Linked DNA regions of Homo sapiens: region 1 is linked to region 2. The links are contacts of gene promoters, found by promoter capture Hi-C in blood cells and fetal thymus (Javierre and others, 2016). All regions are on one chromosome and are shown on one strand. The core of a region is centred on a gene start or on the middle of the fragment in contact, and the rest is flanking DNA. Distances in the headings are between cores, read along the strand shown. Region 1 holds the start of LOC124904796 (small nucleolar RNA U13). Region 2 holds the start of FPR1 (formyl peptide receptor 1).

What was found. The method cuts DNA at HindIII sites, captures the fragments that hold promoters and counts their contacts. A CHiCAGO score of 5 or more calls a contact.
Region 1: a contact is called between a fragment that was not itself captured here and the fragment with the promoter of FPR1 in region 2, in 1 of 17 cell types (monocytes). The highest score is 5.6, in monocytes.

Annotation. Positions count from the first base shown.
Region 1 is chr19:51,669,351-51,674,071 of GRCh38, reverse strand. LOC124904796 (small nucleolar RNA U13) reads right to left here and starts at 4,667; the gene lies at 4,564-4,667. The HindIII fragment of the contact is 5,735 bases long and covers 1-4,552 here.
Region 2 is chr19:51,749,109-51,753,948 of GRCh38, reverse strand. It overlaps FPR1 (formyl peptide receptor 1), which reads left to right and starts at 2,071. Exons shown (of 2, transcript NM_002029.4): 1 at 2,071-2,135. The HindIII fragment of the contact is 1,877 bases long and covers 1,001-2,877 here.

The DNA.
Region 1 (4,721 bases), core at 436-2,935, 79 kb after region 2:
GTTTGTCAAAGATCAGATAGTTGTAGATATGCGGCATTATTTCTGAGGGCTCTGTTCTGTTCCATTGATCTATATCTCTGTTTTGGTACCAGTACCATGCTGTTTTGGTTACTGTAGCCTTGTAGTATAGTTTGAAGTCAGGTAGTGTGATGCCTCCAGCTTTGTTCTTTTGGCTTAGGATTGACTTGGCAATGCGGGCTCTTTTTTGGTTCCATATGAACTTTAAAGTAGTTTTTTCCAATTCTGTGAAGAAAGTCATTGGTAGCTTGATGGGGATGGCATTGAATCTCAGGACATAGGCGTGGGCAAGGACTTCATGTCCAAAACACCAAAAGCAATGGCAACAAAAGACAAAATTGACAAATGGGATCTAATTAAACTAAAGAGCTTCTGCACAGCAAAAGAAACTACCATCAGAGTGAACAGGCAACCTACAACATGGGAGAAAATTTTCGCAACCTACTCATCTGACAAAGGGCTAATATCCAGAATCTACAATGAACTCAAACAAATTTACAAGAAAAAAACAAACAACCCCATCAAAAAGTGGGCGAAGGACATGAACAGACACTTCTCAAAAGAAGACATTTATGCAGCCAAAAAACACATGAAGAAATGCTCATCATCACTGGCCATCAGAGAAATGCAAATCAAAACCACTATGAGATATCATCTCACACCAGTTAGAATGGCAATCATTAAAAAGTCAGGAAACAACAGGTGCTGGAGAGGATGCGGAGAAATAGGAACACTTTTACACTGTTGGTGGGACTGTAAACTAGTTCAACCATTGTGGAAGTCAGTGTGGTGATTCCTCAGGGATCTAGAACTAGAAATACCATTTGACCCAGCCATCCCATTACTGGGTATATACCCAAATGAGTATAAATCATGCTGCTATAAAGACACATGCACACGTATGTTTATTGCGGCACTATTCACAATAGCAAAGACTTGGAACCAACCCAAATGTCCAACAATGATAGACTGGATTAAGAAAATGTGGCACATATACACCATGGAATACTGTGCAGCCATAAAAAATGATGAGTTCATATCCTTTGTAGGGACATGGATGAAATTGGAAACCATCATTCTCAGTAAACTATCGCAAGAACAAAAAACCAAACACCGCATATTCTCACTCATAGGTGGGAATTGAACAATGAGATCACATGGACACAGGAAGGGGAATATCACACTCTGGGGACTGTGGTGGGGTCGGGGGAGGGGGGAGGGATAGCATTGGGAGATATACCTAATGCTAGATGACACATTAGTGGGTGCAGCGCACCAGCATGGCACATGTATACATATGTAACTAACCTGCACAATGTGCACATGTTCCCTAAAACTTAGAGTATAATAAAAAAAAAAAAAAAAAAAAGAAAATTAAGAAATTTTATCCAGTATTAGAGATGGAACCTAATGGGAGATGTTTGGGTTATGGGAGTGGGTGCCTCATGAATGGCTTGGTACTGTCCTCTTGGTAATGGGTGAGTTCTTGCTCTATTAATTCTTACAAGAGCGGTTGTTAAAAAGAACCTGCCACCTGCACTGTCCCTATCTCTTGCTTTCTCTCTCCTCATGTGATCTTTGCACGTGGTGGCTCCCCTTTACCTTCTGCCATGAGTAGAAGCGGCCTGAGGCCTCACCAGAAGCAGATGCTGGTTCCATGCTTTCTATACAGCCTGCAGAACTGTGAGCCAAATACACCTCTTTTCTGTATAAATTACCCAGCATCAGGTATTGCTTTTTTAGCAAGACTAAATGGACTAAGACAGATATGAATAGCTTAAAATCATATTACTGGAATTGAAATAAGATAAACTGAATTCGATCTTTCTTCTCAAGAGATAAAAAAACTCAAGAAAGTAGACATAAGAAAATAATAAAATAAGTACTAAATAATACATGTTTTAAAATGCATACAACAGAATCAACAAAGCCCTAACTTGTTTGGTGAAAAAGTAATAAAATTGATAAACCTCTGGGGAGTCTAAATACAATGAAAAGAGAGAAGGCACATGTAACTAATGTCAGAAATAAAGGACATAACCACTGATGTTGCAGACATTGAGAATATACGATAATATTTTGAACAATTTCACATACTTTGACATTTAGATTAATGGATAAATTAATAAAAATATGTAATTTAGTATAATAGCCTCAGAAAACAAGTAGAAAACCTGAATAGTTCTAAAACTATTCGGAAGAATCAGTAGTAAAAATCATCTCACCAAGCAAACTTTAGGTCAAGATGGCTAAACTTTAAGTATACCAGCAAATTGTACCAAAACTTAAGGAAGAAATTACTCTATTCCTATTCAAACTCTTGCTCATTTTCTGTGGCTAATTATAAAATTAATACCCAAACTCAACAATATAAAAAAATAAAAGTATAGGCAAATCTTAATTAGGCATATAGTGGCACAAATATTAAGCCAGAGTTTGCAAATTAAATAGAGCTAGATATAAATATGATAATGCATCATAGCCAAGATGTGTTTATGTCAGGAATGCAAGGGTGGTTTAACATTAGAAACTCATTTAGTGTATTTATCACAAGCTCAAATACAAGAAAAAAACATAATATGACCATCCCATGGAAGGTGGAAATGAGTCTGATGAAATTCTACCTTTATCCATAACAATTCTCATCAACTGAGGAATATACAAATCCAATTAGAAAAAAAAATCAGGCAATCCAATAGCAAAATTGGCCAATCACTTCAAAAGTGACTTTACAAGAAGAAAATCCAATGAACTCCAATTGTATAAGAAAAGGTCCTCGACCTCTTTAGAGGTAGAAACCAATCAGTGTCATAGTGGATACCATTACATACTCATCAGATTGCTAAAAATGGAAAGTACCAAGGGTTGGCAAGGATGTGGGGCAATGGTAACTCTCATATTGTACACTTTTGGGAGTGTAAATTCATGCAATTGTTTGGGAAAATTTTTTAGCATTATCTACTGAAGTAGGAGATATATACACACACTTACATACAGACCATCCCTGACTTATGATGATTCAAGTTATAATTTTTCATCTTTACGATAGTGCAAAAGCCATACACATTCAGTACTCAGTATACTGAGTACACATTCAGTATAATCCCATCATACATGGAAAATATTAAGTAGAAAATTACTTCTGACTTACTATATTTTCAATTTATGACAGATTTATCAGGATGAAACTCCACCATAAGTTAAGGAGCATCTGTACACAGGCATACTGACATATATACAGAAGTTCCTCTAAGATGCATCCTCTAGAGACAGGGTTCTACTAGGAGATACCAAGATTCTTTCAGGGGGCATCTTCAAGGTCAAAACTATTTTAGTAATAATACACAGATGTTATTTGCGTTTTTCTCTGTGTTGACATTACATTGCTGGTGCAAAAGCAATGGTACATAAAAGGGCTGTAACCTTAGCCGGAAGCAAGGTAATAGCACTAAATTGTGCTAGAAAGTTGTATTCTTTATCACTTCACACTCACTGTTAAGGAAAATTCCAGCTTCATTTAAGATTGCACTTGATGAAACAGTAAAAGCTATTAATTGTGCTAAATCTCAACTCTTGAATACACTTTTTTAAAACTTTTATTTTAAGTTTGGGGTATATGTGCAGGTTTGTTGCATAGGCAAACTTGTGTCCTGGTGGTTTGTTATACAGATTACTTCATCACCCAAGTATTAAACCTAGTATTCGTTAGTTATGTTTCCTGATCCTCTCCCTCCTCCCACCCTCCACCCTCCAGTAGGCCCCAGTGTGTGTTGTTCCCCTCTATGTGTTCTCATCATTTAGCTCCCACTTACAAGGCAAGTGGATCGATGAAGTGTGGTATATCCACATAATGGAATACTATTCAGCAATGAAAAAATGAAATACAGCTATATGAATACATAGAATATTGTCATCAATGTGATATTATAAAAATTTGCAAAATCAAATGAACACATGGAATCTTGTTCCATACATGTAAATATGTAATCTTAAAAATAGCTAAAAGAAAACTATTATGCTGGGCACAGTGGCTCATGCCTGTAATCCCAGAACTTTGGGAGGCACAAGGCAGGCAGATCACCTGAGGTCAGGAGTTGGAGACCAGCCTGACCAACATGGAGAAACCCCTTCTCTACTAAAAATACAAAATTAGCTGGTCATGGTGGTGCATGCCTGTAATCCCAGCTACTCAGGAGGCTGAGGCAGGAGAATCATTTGAACCCAAGAGGCGGAGATTGCGGTGAGCCAAGATCGCACTATTGCACTCCAGCCTGGGCAACAAAAGTGAAACTCCATCTCAAAAAAAAAAAAAGAAAAGAAAAAGAAAACTACATAACTAATAGCAATAAAAAGAAAAGTGAGCGCAAAATTATCAAAAAGTTAGAATGTTACTGACTTCTGGAGGGAGGCATGGATTATTACTGGGGAAGCCACATGCAGGGGATTCTGAAATATTGTGTATGTTTCATTTCTTGACCTATATGACTACTTTAAGATGAATCTTAACATCTACTTCTGAAACTATTCAGAAGCTTTTTTTTTTCCATTCAGATGAGTAATATGCCGATGTTGTAACAAGGAGTGAGGGAGGCACATCTTATACACGAGCCTGAAAACCCAGTCCTCACACTTATGAACTACAAAAGGATCTAGAAAGTAGCTTTTCAAGCAGTAAACAAAGATTCAATTTGTGGTATTGTTTT
Region 2 (4,840 bases), core at 822-3,321:
CCCTTTATTTTAATCCCCTTACAAAGTGTTGGCTTCCATGTGACTCCTAGGCACGTCTTCATTTGTTACCCTTCATACCTTGGGAATCTTCTAAAATGCATCTGTTGTTATGATCCCAAGAAAATGTTTATAAAATACAAACACAAATGTTTATAAAGTACAAATGAACATATCACCCTTCTGATTAAAGATCTTCAGTGATTCTCCATCTCATCCCCATCCTCCTGGTGTGGGATGCTGGAGTGTAGCAGTCCCCAACATTTTTGGCACCAGGGACCAGTTTCATAAAAAACAATTTCTCCATGGGGTGGCGGGGTAGATGGTTTCAGGATGATTTAAGCACATTGCATTTATTGTAGACTTTATTTCTATTATTATTATTACATTGTAATACACAATGAAATAATTATACAACTCACAATGATGTAGAATCCGTGGGAGCCCTGAGCTTGCTTTCCCGCAACTAGACAGTCCCATCTGGGAGTGATGGGAGACAGTGACAGATCATCAGGCATTAGATTCTCATAAGGAGCACACAACCCAGATCCCTGGCATGCACAGTTCACAGTAGGGTTCACACTGTTATGAGAATCTAATGCCGCCACTAATCTGACAGGAGGCAGAGCTCAGGCAGTAATGCCAGCAATGGGGAGTGGCTATAAATACAGATGAAGCTTCTCTTGCTCACCTGCCAGTCACCTGCTGTGCAGCCCACTTCCTAACAGGCCACAGACCGGTATCGGTCTGTGTATTGGTCTATGGCCTGGAGGTTGGGGACCCCTGCTGTAATGTGAAGTCAGGAGCTGTGGTAGCTTTCTTGGAGCCATGAAGTGGCAATCCCCAGGAAAAAAAGTCACCATATTAGGGATAAAAAAGAGAAAAGATTAAAATGAATGTAGTTCTTGATGATATTTTCCAGATATAACCTAACCTAGTATTACCCTCTTGCAAAATTCTTGTAAAGTAAACCATAAATTTCGTCTTGGTTCTAAGCTAAGCTTGTCCAGCCCATGGCCTAAGATGGCTTTGAATGCAGCCCAACACAAATTCATAAACTTTCTTAAAACATTATCAGATTTTTGGGGGATTTTTTTTTTTTTTTTTTTTTTTAGCTCATCAGGTATCGTTAGTGTTAGTGTATTTTATGTGTGGCCCAAGACAATTCTTCTTCTTCCAGTGTGGCCCAGGGAAGGCAAAAGATTGGACACCCCTTGTTGAAGCCATTGTTAGGTGTAATTGTAAATTATAAATTACTTAGAATTAAAAACAGCCCGGCTCATGCCTGTAATCCCAGCATTTGGGGAGGCTGAGGCAGGAGGATCACTAAACCCAGGGGTCTGAGACATGCCTGGGCAACGTAGCAGGATACTGTCTCTAAAAGAAAAGAAAAAACAGTCTTAATGCAACAATGCCTTGGTAATAATGCTTTTAGAATCAGTGTCGTTATCTCTGATTCTGTAACTGTCTTACCATATTTCTCCATATCACTCTGATACCCTTGGAAGGATGCTTAACATTTCAGAAAAACGGTTATTTCTTTGGGCTAGAAGACTACAAATGAGCTTCCACAAGATCAGAGGATTATGGGGTTAATCTTGGTGGTGTGCATGGGTGTGGACGCGCTGTCCTGCCAACTGTCTCAACTTCCCCCACTCCCTTACCTCTCTCTGTGTTTCTGGTCTCCATCCCTCATGACTTCTTCTCTTCCTTTCATTGCCTCCCTCTGATTCTTCTCACCACAGTGCTTGCTGCTTTCTTTACCTTGACCCTTGGAGGGAGCAGGGGCCCGGACACTTGGATTTCTTGGCCCTTGTTGTTGAGAGCACTGAACCTCTGCATCCCACAGAGACTGAGGCTGAGAAATACAGTCAGGTACATGAGTTTCTAAACAGGCCCAGCCCACTGTCCTAATGCCATTAAAGCAGACAGTATATTGGTGTATTCTTGGGGCCATCAAAAATCAGAAGAAGCTCAGACTTCCTATTTCCTGCTACCCAGCTGGTTTTAGTTCCTTTACCCCTCCTCCTGTTCCTTGGTGTATGTTTTGCTGCAATCATTAGAGCCTGAGTCACTCTCCCCAGGAGACCCAGACCTAGAACTACCCAGAGCAAGACCACAGCTGGTGAACAGTCCAGGTAAGAAACATATTCTGGGGGACTGGGTAGCTTGACATAGACACACTTAATACACTGGTGAACACAATAGACTCTTTGTTTGAAGAAGGATGTGGAGTTGAAGAATAATTTTTTTAAAGAGGTTCTAAACAGGCCGGGCACGGTGACTCATGCTTGTAATCCCAGCACTTTGGGAGGCCAAGGCAGGTGGATAACTTGAGGTCAGGAGTTCGAGACCAGCCTGGCCAACATGTTGAAACCTCACTTCTATTAAAAATACAAAAATTAGCCAGGCGTGGTGGTGGGCGTCTGTAATTCAAGCTACTTGGGAGGCTGAGGCAGGAGAATTGCTTGAATCTGGGAGGTGGAGGTTGCAGTGAGCTCAGATTGCACCACTGTACTCCAGCCTAGGTGACAGAGTGAGACTCCATCTCAAATAAATAAGTAAATAAATAAATAAACAAATAGGCTCTAGACTTTATTGGGGTCCTGATGGGAATGATGGAATATAGAGACACTATGAGGCTGCAGGAGAGAGAAGGGATAAGTGAAGGAGGGAAGTTCTTGAGTAAATGGGGGAATGAGTTTTATGGGACCAGTAGAGGGTAATTCTTGGATGGAAACACTTGTTTTCTGGTTACAGAGATGAGGGCAGAGAACAGTGATGCAGGAGCCAGCAGGAGGAGAATCTGGTGGAGCAAGAGGCAAGGGCATCAGCTTGAGGGCTTGAGTCGGGATGGGAAAGGATGTTTGGTTTGAAGCTTTCAGGAGAAAGCAAAAGAGCCCTAACGACTTTATGATGGGTCATGGGGAAATGAGTGTAATACAGAAGCAGTCACCTTTCGGATCAGTGATGAGTCTCCACGTGAAGACACTGGTTCTGCATGGTGCATAGGACCCAGTAGCGGAATACAGCCCTGCCCTCTCATGAATCTGCAGACATTGGCTGTCATTTCTCATCAAGCTCCTAGTTTCCTCTTCCGTCACACAGGGATGATGATGTATAATCAATGCTGAGTTTGTTGAGATCAGAGGCAAGAAAGTTGAGGATGTGGTACAATGATTATCAAGCATAAAGTCCTTCATCGATGGCAGCCACCAAGGCCTGTGTTCATTGCAAATCACAGGATTTTTCCCTTGAACCATAATTGGACAAAATTGCACAGGTTTTCCTCTCTGGTATGTTCCAGCTCATTATTGCAGAATCCTCATCATTCATTGCAACAATCTTCTGAACTGGTTGCCTTAGAGATTCTTGAGGACAAAGAGTCCTCAGGGTATTTTGGTGGTTGGATGGGTGGTAGGGGAGGGAGACATCTCTGAGTTGTTTCTGAGATTGTAGAGTATCAAAGTTCATTAGAAATGTGAGACACATATGTAATTTCAAAGTGTCAAGTAGGCACTTTAAAAAGGTGAAGAGAAACATGCGAACTTAATTTTAATAAAATATCTAACCTAAACTTAAATAGCCAAATTATTATCATTTTAACATGTAGTCAATATAAAAACTATTAATGAGATGGTCACAATATTTTTTTCATACTAAGTCTTTGAAATCTGATGGGTATTTTACTCCTACAGCCTGTCTCCAGTTGGACTAGCCACAATTCAAGTGCTTGAAAACCACATGTGGTGAGTGACTAGTGCATTAGACAGCTCTTCTGTGCCAGTAGCGTGGCAGGGCAGAGGCAGAAAGAGACTTTTGCTGGAATTCGACAGCCTGGGCTGTTGGGTGACTTTAAGGAATTAACTGAAATGCTCTAAGTCGCACTTTCCTCGTCTGCAAAATGGGTACCATAAAGACAGTGACCCTCATAGTAACAATTTTGAGGAAGGCTGCTGCAAGCATTAGAAGAGAAGACCAGGCCGGGCGCAGTGGCTCACACCTGTAATCCTAGCACTTTGGGAGGCTGAGGCAGGTGGACTGCCTGAGCTCAAGAGTTTGAGACCAGCCTGGGCAACATGGTGAAACCCCATGTCTACTAAAATACAATTAAAAAGAAAAATTAGCCAGGCACGGCGGCGTGCACCTGAAATCCCAGCTACTCAGGAGGCTGAGACAGGAGAATTGCTTGAACCTGGGAGGCGGAGGTTGCAGTGAGCTCAGATCACGCCACTGCACTCCAGCCTGGGTGATAGAGAGAGACTCCATCTCAAAATAAATAAATAAATAAAATAAAATAAATTAAAAAAAAGAGAGAAGGCCAGCTCTCAGCAAGAACCTGACATGCACTTTGCATACCTGATCTAATGAAATGTCATATCCAATACATATTTGGACTATTATTTCTATCACGGTCTTCTACATCCCCAAGAGTGCTGAGCCCATCCAATGGATGGAGAAGCACCTCCCATCCATCTGGCCAAGGTAACCGCAGAGACGAGAGTGGAAACAGAGTCTGTTGTTCTGACTTCTTCTAGCACAGAATCCATTGGATATAATACTTGATTATACGTCGTTTAGTATCACTCACGGATCCATTTGACCTATGTTGGAAAACTAACCAAGTACTATGCCTTGCTTCCCACGATGAGAGAGGAAAGGGAGATTTCATGACCTTAAAGAGAGAGAGCGAGCAGAATTTGGAGTGGAGAAGTTGCATATCTTTTTTTTTTTTTTGAAACGGAGTCTCGCTCTGTCGCCCAGGCTGGAGTGCAATGGCGCAGTCTCTGCTCACTGCAACCTCCGCCTCCCACGTTCAAGTGATTCTCCTGCCTCAGCCTCT